2 separate regions of the Homo sapiens genome follow, and region 2 is linked to region 1. The links are contacts of gene promoters, found by promoter capture Hi-C in blood cells and fetal thymus (Javierre and others, 2016). All regions are on one chromosome and are shown on one strand. The core of a region is centred on a gene start or on the middle of the fragment in contact, and the rest is flanking DNA. Distances in the headings are between cores, read along the strand shown. Region 1 holds the start of CNGB1 (cyclic nucleotide gated channel subunit beta 1). Region 2 has its middle 46 kb from the start of KIFC3.

What was found. The method cuts DNA at HindIII sites, captures the fragments that hold promoters and counts their contacts. A CHiCAGO score of 5 or more calls a contact.
Region 2: a fragment that was not itself captured here is called in contact with the fragment with the promoter of CNGB1 in region 1 in 2 of 17 cell types (endothelial precursors and erythroblasts); the score reaches 6.0 in endothelial precursors.

Annotation. Positions count from the first base shown.
Region 1 is chr16:57,969,215-57,974,401 of GRCh38, forward strand. It overlaps CNGB1 (cyclic nucleotide gated channel subunit beta 1), which reads right to left and starts at 1,914. Exons shown (of 33, transcript NM_001297.5): 1 at 1,846-1,914. The HindIII fragment of the contact is 12,254 bases long and covers 1-4,961 here.
Region 2 is chr16:57,845,709-57,850,423 of GRCh38, forward strand. It overlaps a transcript of KIFC3 not described here. Among named protein-coding and RNA genes, the nearest start is that of KIFC3, 46 kb to the left of the region's middle. RefSeq lists enhancers at 55-938, 939-1,820. The HindIII fragment of the contact is 203 bases long and covers 3,208-3,410 here.

The DNA.
Region 1 (5,187 bases), core at 664-3,163:
AGAATCACTTGAACCCGGGAGGCAGAGGTTGCAGTGAGCCGAGATCGTGCCACTGCACTCCAGCCTGCCTGGGTGACAGAGCAAGACTCCTTCTCAAAAACAAACAGACAAACAAAAAGGCTGGGCATGGTGTGGCTCACACCTGCAATCCCAGCACTTCAGGAGGCTGAGGCAGGCAGATCGCTTGAGCTCAGGAGTTCGAGACCAGCCTGGGCAACATGATGAAACCCTGTCTCTACCAAAAATACAAAAAATTAGCCCAGCGTGGTGGCACGTGCCTGTAGTACCAGTTACTCGGGAGGCTGAGGCACGAGAATCACTGGAGCCCAAAAGGTGGAGATTGCACTCAGCCATTGCACTCCAGCCTGGTCGACAGAGTAAGACCCTGTCTCAAAACTGAAATAAAATGCTTATAGTGCTATATTTTAAAAAAAGAAAGAAAGAAAAAGATAAAATGCCAGGTAAGACTTTTTTCATGATATACTGTGTTATTTCAGTCCTACCTTAAGTACAGGTTGTTTCTGGTTGATTTCTCCTTGGGGAATGGGGAGCCCCAGCCCTTATGACTGAACCCCTGCAGGATGGCCTGGCCAGTGCGCAGCGTGCAGGTCAGTGTGTGCTAACTCCTAGCCCTAGATGTGTTCTTGCCCCACATGAGTGTGCCCCACCCCTCTCCCAGCCATGGGCAACCCGGGCTTTGGCAGAGAGTCTGTATGCCCCTTTCTGCCAGGGACCCTGGCCCCAGCTGAAGAGGGCAGCCCAGGCCCAGGATCCTTGCCCCCAAGCCCAGCTCCCCAGAGCCCACGGCTGTGCTGCCTGTCCTCTACTTACAGCCCTGACCTCTGTTCCCACTCTGGCATCAGCAGCCCAGCCTCTCCCACGAGAGGCTGTGGTGGGAACACAGCTCTAAGTGTCAGATCCCTGGCTCAGCCTCCCAAAAAATGAACTTGGGCCAGACATGACCCCTCTGGTCTTCCATTTCCCTGAAGGTGGGGGCACAGACACAATGTTTTCCCAGGTCGGGACTGCCAGAGCTCACATGTTGGGATAGCAGATTTCACTGACCCCAGCCAGCCCCAGGCAGCCCCGAGAGCCAGGGCTGAGCTAAGTGCATTCTACCCATGATCATACTCATCCTCGCTCTCACCACCACGCCCCGCCCAGCCCCTGCACTCAGTAAAATAAGAATTTTCATTATGTAGCACAGAAAGGTCAACAGAATCGCCTGAAGCAGCACAGCCGGCAGTGGCCAACTTGAGTTTACACTCAGGTCTGCCCGATTCCAGCTGCCCCACATGTATTCCCAGGTAGTCGTGGCATTTGCCGAGTGTTGGCCTCTTCCGCGGGCCAGGCCTGTAGACCCTTCCCAGCAGGCAGCAATTCTCGCTTGCATTTCTAAACCTTCTGGAAATGACTAAGGAAGCCTCCCCGATCCCCCATTTTTCTTTTTCCTCCTAAATGAGAATTTTTGCAGGTCCCTCCCATCTTTCACCCGTGTCCCTGCTGACTGCACTTTGATGAGGGAGGCTCAGGTGGGAAGGGGGACCCACGAGTGGCAGCTCGGGGAGCCATGGTGTTGCACCACCAGCATTTCCAGAGTCTTCTGGAGAGCTAGTGAAAATATAGATTCCTAGGTCCCCCAAGTCCTCCTGGGGGACCTAGGAATTTGCATTGTACAAGCTGTCCTGAAAATTCTGATGCCCGCTAAAGTCCAAGCTCCACCAGATAGAGGGAAGCCACAGGTTTCCCACCGTGCCAGTTTGGTCCTACCTAAATGCCTTTCTAGAGGGAGAACATGGGGATCCCCTCGGGGTCCCACCGAGCCTCCACCTCACCCTGAGTTACCTGCTTAGATGCCAACCGCCAGCCAGGAATTGCCTTCTTGCTGCCACTCGTAGCTGGCCCCTCAGACACAAGGAAGATTAATTGGCAGTAGCTGGGCCGTGTGCAAAGGATTAGCAGGTGCTGAATGGGGGAGGGGGAGAAAAGAGGCTGTTGATGCCCAGGAAACCAGCAGCACCTCCCAACTCCCAGGGTCCAGCAAGGATGTGGGCCCCAGGGAAGGGCTCCTGCATGGCCCAGGTTTGGAGCACCATGGGTTGCCAGGGGACCTGCCCGGCTTACCAGGGGCCTGGCTTCCCATACACCTTGGCCAAGACACGGAGTGGCTGATGGGAGAATAACAGCTTGGAGTTCCCATGTGATGCCTGGAGACTCCTCATGGTAGCAGGGGCTTGTCAGCTCCCACTCAGCGGTGGCAAGAGGTGTACCCCAACTCTCCAGCCCCCAGGCCAGGACGCAGGCAGGTTCTTTCTGGCTTAGAGTCTTCTCTGGGCAGGGTCTCAGCAGCCCTGCCTTGGGCTCTGCCAGAAAGGCTGTGTCCCAGGCCTGGGCCTTGAGGATGGATCCAAGACCCGGCAGATGACTGAGGCATCTGACCTGCCCTGTGAACTGAGGCTGGACACTTGAAGGGATACAGAGATCTAGGAGGAGAGGGTGCAAGGGACAGGGCCCAAGGAAGAGGGGCTCAGTGTGGTGGCCCTGAGGGATATTTGGCAAAGGGCAGGACTTGACTTAATTATCCGCACCATTTCTAGAGTTCTTCCTTTCCTTTCCTTTCCTTTTTTTTTTTTTTTTTTTAAGCCACAGTCTCTCTCTGTCACTCAGGCTAAGTGAAGTGGTGCAATCACAGCTCATTGCAGCCTCAACCTCTCAAACTCCTGGATGCAAGCAATCCTCCTGCCTCAGCCTCTCATAGTATTGGGATTACAGATGTAAGCCCCTGCACCTGGCCTAGAGCTCTTCCTTTGTGCCTGGCAGTGTGCCAGCCTTGGCACACTGAGCAAGACAGACATAGGCCCTGTCCTCATGGAGCTTACATTCCAATGGAGGAGATTACTGACAAATAAAGAATATTGCAAATTATGCTAAGTGCCATAAAAGAAACAAACAGGGCAGAAGCATGTTGTGGAGGGCAGTAGGGGCAGGTAGGCAGGCCCCTATGACGAGGTGGATGTATATTTGAACTGAGACATGAAAAGTAAGAAAGACTCAGCTGTGAAAAAAGCTGGGTGAGTGGTGCTCCAGGCCAAGGACACTGCAACGAGAAAGGTTCTGAGGCTGGAATGAGCCTTGAGGAGCAGAATGGGAACCGGGGAGCCTGGAGCTTAACGGGTGCAGGGGAGAGTGGTGGGAGATGAGGTTGACAGAGGGCAGGGGCAGATGTTGTGAGACTGTAAGCCACAGGAAGGAGTGTAGTTTTAGATGATGGTTTTGAACAGGGGCTGGGCATGATCTGTGTGGCTCTGTGTAGCAGGCAAGCATGGAAACAGGAAACTGGTCAGGAGGCTGCGGAGGGACAAGCTGATTGGTGACTGGATGACCCCTGGCTTCCCCTCCAGTGTTGGGCTTCAAGACCTCTGATAATGCAACCTCTACATGGCAAGTGATTCACAAGAAAGTTCTTTCTGCCAGCAAGGCCAGACCCCAACGGTAAAGCTCAATGTACTCCCTGACCCTTCCCTACAAATATGCCAGGCTGCAGGGGTCAGAGCTCCTCCCCAAGGAACAGCAGCAAGCCCTTCTGCTCTGCTTGGGCCTGAGACTAACACAGGTGACATTCGCCCTTGCCTGCAGCCTGACGGGAGGGATGATGGGGCTTGGACTATGCTGGTGGGAGTACAGATAGAAGGGAAAGGGGAGGAAAAAGGCGGGCATTGAGGGGCTCACCCTGGGAAACTGGGTAGCTGGTTTAGTGGGTGAACCAGTAAACCGCCCCAGGCTGGTTTACACATGTACTGAAAAGAAGAAGCCTGAGGCTGGAAGTTTGGAGGAAGAATTTTGGAGGGAAAATCATGAGCACTACTTTGTTAAGATGTCTGAGAGAGGCTGGGTGCAGTGGCTCACGCCTGTAATCCTAGCACTTTGGGAGGCCAAAGCAGGTGGATCACCTGAGGTCAGGAGTTCAAGACCAGCCTGGCCAACATGGCAAAACTCCGTCTCTACTAAAAATACAAAAATTAGTCGGGTGTGGTGGCAGGTGCCTATAATCCCAGCTGCTCTGGAGGCTGAGGCAGGAGAATTGCCTGAACCCGGTGGGTGGATGTTGCAGTGAGCCAAGATCACACCACTGCACTCCAGCCTAAGCAAAAAAAAAAAAAAGTCTGAGAGACATCCAGGTTGAAATGTGTGTGTGTGTGTGTGTGTGTGTGTGTGTGTGTGTGAGACTTAGGGAGAGGTCTACAGGAGATAGAAATTTTGGAGGCCTCAGCTTGCAGATGATGCTTAAAGCCACAGGACTGACTGATATCACCTCGGAAACCCAAGGAAACAAAGATGACCAGAGGTGGCACCTGGAACACGGGCTCACTCAGAGGATGCAAAAAGAGCAGGAGCTGGTAAAGGAGCCTGAAGGAGCTGCCAGGGATGGGGATGGAGAAGCAGAAGCATGGGGTGAGGTGAAAGCCAAGAGTAGTGGCTGTGTTGGGGTGAGGGAATGATCCAAGGGGCCACTGTCTGAGCTGAGACTTGAAATGCGTCCTGAGATTGGGCAACTTAGAGGCAGTTGGAGCCCCTGCAGAGTGGGAAGGAGGGAAAATTAGATGAGCCTGAGGGAACAGTAGTGGGCTCTAGGGTGGGGAAAATGAGCAAAACACAGCCACACACAGTGGCTAAAGTTTGGATGAAACTCATGTGCATATATATGGAGAGAAAGAAGCCAGATTCAAAAGAAGACCCCAGTGATCCATGCATACAAAATTCCCAAAAGGCAAAATTAGTCTGTCCTGTCTATGGCTACAAACACAAGTACATTTGCCACCTCTAGTTTTCTATAAAGCCTAGAGTTGTTAAATAAAGTTTTCCATAGTTGCCCATAAATAAAAGCACAGGTTGTACTACAAGATGGGAGAGTGGTTCCTTCTTGCTGGGTTGGGGGTTGTAATTGGGAAGGTGTATGTGGAAGCTTCTAGGGACTGGCAGGGCCAATGTCTTGCTTTCTTTTACTAACTTGGCTGGCATCTATTTTTCAAAACAAGCTTATGGGAATATATATGCCATAAAATTCACCCATGGTAAGTATACAACTCAATGACTTTTATATTACTTATTATTTATTTATTTATTTAAGACAGGGTGTCACTCTATCACCCAGGCTGGAGTGCAGTGGCGTGATCATAGCTCACCGCA
Region 2 (4,715 bases), core at 2,059-4,558, 120 kb before region 1:
CTCTTTGCACCCCTTACTCTGCTGTTGGATTGGTTGATTGGTTTTTGTTTTTTAGTCTTCGCACTTAACACCTTCCAACAGACAAAATGTTGATGTATTTTTGTGCCTGTTATTTATTCCCTGTTTTCCTCTGTGAGGGAGAGTCACCTCTGAGAGGTGAAGATCTTTTTCTACATTGTTTGCCAGTGTCTCCTGGGCACTGGTAGAGTTTAAACTTACAGAGGGTTCTTTAAGATTTGTGAAAGGAAGGGGCTGCCCCAGAGCTGTGGGGTTTTTGTCAAAACAAAGCTGAGAAAGAGAACAGAGGAAATGCATTTGACTTCCCTGCCCCTCAGGAGATGAGATGAGGGAAGAGTAGACAAGGTGAGGGGCCTGGAGACCCAACCCTTTCATGCCAAGACACTTATAAGCCTGTGCCCACTCCCTCCCCACCAGAGCAGGAAGAGGCTGGACCTCCAGGGGCTGGTGATGGCCTGGTGGAGGGAGAACTCCACCCCTCTCCCTGGGTGGGGCTGGGCAGTAGAGGACCACACCCCTGGGTCCTTTGCTGCCCAGAGAGCACTATGGGGCTCCTGGTTCCAGACCTAAAGCCAGGCCGGGAGAAGCAGACAAAGCCATGAGATACACATCTTTTCCCTACCTGTGGCCTCCCGGCTGCCTCCAACCTGGACACAGGGCTTTGCAGTCTTTCTAAATGAGAATCCTGATGGCTGAAGAAGGCGGATGGTGGAGGGTGACCTAACAGAAGAGGGCTTGCGGCAGACACTGGAATGCGATGTTCTGCTGGGAAACCCAGCCACCTGGGCGGAGATGCCTGGAAGGCGCTGTTCAGCCCAGCAGGTGCAAATTCTCATGTCAAACCCTTTAAGGAAGCTGCTCGCAGACAGCCCATCCTCCCTCCTTTCTCCCCCACTCCATCTGGTTGTTAACGAGAATGAGAAAAGCAGATTAGAAGTGTCACCCCTGCAGCTGGTTCAAGGCTGTACAACCGATCCACTTTCGTTTCATTCTGATAGGTACAATTTCTTTCCCAAACAAACACTCACGTATTGGGTTTTGAGAAACCTTCTACTTATATGAATTTCATGAGCTTGACTGTGACCTGGGATAAGTCTTTATGAGCAAAACAAAGAAATGACCTATAAAAAGAAGTGTGTTTTCCTTTGTGATTCTGTGGCATAAGAAATATATTTAGGCCTGGTGCAGTGGCCCAAGCCTGTAATCCCAACACTTCAGGAGGCCAAGGTGGGCAGACCACTTGAGGCCAGGATTTCGAGACCAGCCTAGCCAACAAGGTGAAACCCCATCTCTACTAAAAATGCAAAAATTAGCCACGTGTGCTGGCGAACACCTGTAATCTCAGCTACTCTGGGGGCTGAGGCATGAGAATCTCTTGAACACGGGAGGCGGGGGTTACAGTGAGCCAGATGGCACCACTGCATTCCAGCCTGAGGTGACAGAGCAATGAATCTGTGAAGGAAGGAGGGAAGGAAGGAAGGAAGGAAGGAAGGAAGGAAGGAAGGAAGGAAGGAAGGAAGGAAGGAAGGAAGGAAGGAAGGAAGGGAAGGGAGGGAGGGAGAGAGGGCGGGGAGGGAGGGAGGGAGGGAGAGGTGGCTCACACCTGTAATCCCAGCACTTTGGGAGGCTGAGGTGGAAGGCTTGCTTGAGCCCAGGAGTTCGAGACCAGCCTGGGCAACACAGTAAAAATCCTGTGTCTATAAACAATAAAAAGTAATTTTGAAAAAATTGTAGGACATGCAGCTGGTGTCACAGAGAATTTATTGGTGTGGGGAAGAAACAACACACATTTGGTGTTAGGAGTGTTCCATGGATAGAAAAAGATTAGAGATTCCACAAATTGATTCTGTCAATTTGTGGAATTGACACAAACACACAGGGCTGCCCAATTTTCTGTTATAAGCAGGGGAGGGGAGTCCTGAAAGAGATTTGCAGATGATATAAATGCGTAAGAGAACATTGAGACTTTTCTTTCCCTTTGGCCTTATTGTTCAAGAATATATTTTTAGATTAAGTCCAGATGCCAGATGAATTTGTGTGTGTGTGTGTGTGTGTGTGTGTGTGTGTGTGTGTGTGTGAGACCGAGTCTCACTCTGTTGCCCAGGCTGGAATGCAGTGGCACAATCTCAGCTCGCTGCAACCTCTGCCTCCGAGATTCAAGCAATTCTTGTGCCTCAGCCTCCCAAGTAGCTGGGGACACAGGCGCACCCCACCACATCTGGCTAATTTTTGTATTTTTGATAGAGATGGGGTTTCACCATGTTGGCCAGGTGTGTCTTGAAATCCTGACCTCAAGTGATCCACCTGCCGCAGCCTTCTAAAGTACTGGCATTACAGGCGTGGGCCACCATGCTTGGCCTGGATGCCAGAAGAGTTATTTGCAAAACAATTTTTAAATACTTTTAAATACTTTGTAAAGAAGCCAAAGTTTTATTGTTGTTATTTTCTGTCTAATGCCTTGAAGTTGCCATACATTTTGGAGATTCTATTAAAGCTATAAGCTCGTTTTGTTCAGATGAACATTCATTTGTTTTTATGATCAAGCAAACAGAGAGTGGTTTAACTGGCTTAAGAAGGACCACACAGAAAGCCGAAATTCAGGACCAGCATTGAGATGCCAGCATGGAGGCCCCGTGTGGTGGCTCATCCCAGAACTTTGGGAGGCCGAGGCAGGAGGATTGCTTGAGGTCAGGAGTTCCAGACCAGCCTGCACAGCATAGCCAGATCCCATCTCTACAAAAAATTCTAAAAATTAGCTGGGCGTTGTGGTGCATGCCTGTAGTCCTAGCTATTGGGAAGGCTGAATCCAGAGGATCCCTTGAGCCCATGAATTTGAGGCTGCAGTGAGCTGTGACTGAGCCACTGCCACTCCAGCCTGATAGACAGAATAAGACCTGTCTCAAAAAATTAAAATTAAAAGACGCCCATATGAAGCTAATCTCCGATTCTGTGTGCAGACTGCTAAAATGTCTCTCTTGCTAAAAGGAAGCCCTAAGAATGGCTACACAGGGTTTTTAACAAAAAGATTTAGCATGTCTTAGGACTTAATGCATGTGCCACCTTCAGGCAGCCATAACAAAAAACTAGAGGTTTTCTCTAAATAAATACATAAAAATAAGGAATTTAGATTCTCTGGCAACTGTGACCTTAAACTTTGTTTTCAAGGTGAAAAATATTCACATAAAATTAAGCTTTATGAGAACATTTCTATGATGATTTAATTTCTTCTCTCTTCCCCGGTTCCACTTAAACACTAATCCTAGAATCCTAAAACTGTTCTTCCTGTAGATGTCATGGTAAGTACCACACTTTTTCTGTGCTTTTCCATAAGCAGAGAACAATAGTAGCTGAGTGATCAGACAGTACAGAGATTAACAGAGGAGTTAGTAATAAGCTTTAGAGGTTTATATCTGTGGCTCTACTCGTCTAAATTTAAGCCTTTTTGGGGACAGAAACCCAGTTAACCAATTTAAGGCAACTACCATCACAGTTTCTTGATAATTGGTGATCTCAGTAGAAAGGGTACGTTGTAAATAAACAAAGCAATGAAACCCAGATTTCATTCATCAATGTATCCCCTACAGACCAGTTTAATGGAGATAAATTACCTTGTAGATAATGACAATGCAAACTTAACACACATCAGATCGATTGAGACAAACTGCTGTGTGTGTGTATCTGTGACGGCCTTTACTTTGTTATTACTGATTTAATTATTTTAAAACCCTTATTAAGTGCTCTGTGGGTTCATAGTGGCACTTCTCTAAAAATCTGAAAGTCAATATAGTCTTTTAAACTACAGAGTTGGTGCCCTTTGTCTTATGAAGGGAAGGAGAACGTAAACTCACTGCCTCTAGAAGATAGGGGTAGAGGTGTTTAGAAAATAGTTAATGGGGCCAGGTGTGGTGGCTGATGCCTGTAATTCCAGCACTTTGGGAGGCCGAGGCAGGCAGATCATCTGAGGTCTGGAGTTCAAGACCAGCCTGGCCAGCATGATAAAACCCCATCTCTACTAAAAATACAAAAATTAGCCGGGTGTGGTGGTGTGTGCCTGTAATCCCAGCTACTTGGGAGGCTGAGGCAGGAGAATCACTTGCACCTGGAATGTGGAGGTTGCAGTGAGCCGAGATCATGCCACTGCACTCCAGCCTGGGCAACAAGAGCAAAACTCCATCTCAACAACAACAAAAAATAGTTAATGGGCCGGGTGCAGAGGCTTCCACCTGTAATCCTAGTAATTTGGGAGGCTTGAGGGGAATCAGCCTCGAAAAGTAGGGGAATCACTTGAGGCCAGGAGTTTGAGGCTGTAGTGAGCTATAATCGTGCCATTACACTTCAGCCTGGGTGACAGAGCAAGACCCTTTCTCTAAAAAATAAATAGTAATAATAAAAGCCAGGTGTGGTGGCTCATGCCTATAATCTTAACACCTTGAGAGACTGAGGCGGGAGAATTGCTTGAGCCCAGAAGTTCCAGACCACCAGCCTGGGCAACATAGCGAGACCCTGTCTCTACAAAAAATTGAAAAATTAGCCGGGCATGGTGGCATGCACCTGTAGTCCCAGCTATTCAGGAGGCTGAGACAGGAGGATTGCTTGAGCCCAGGAATTTGAGGCTGCAGTGAGCCATGATTGAGCCACTGGACTCCAGCCTGGGGGAGAGAGTGAGACCCTGTCACACACAAACAAAATAATATAAT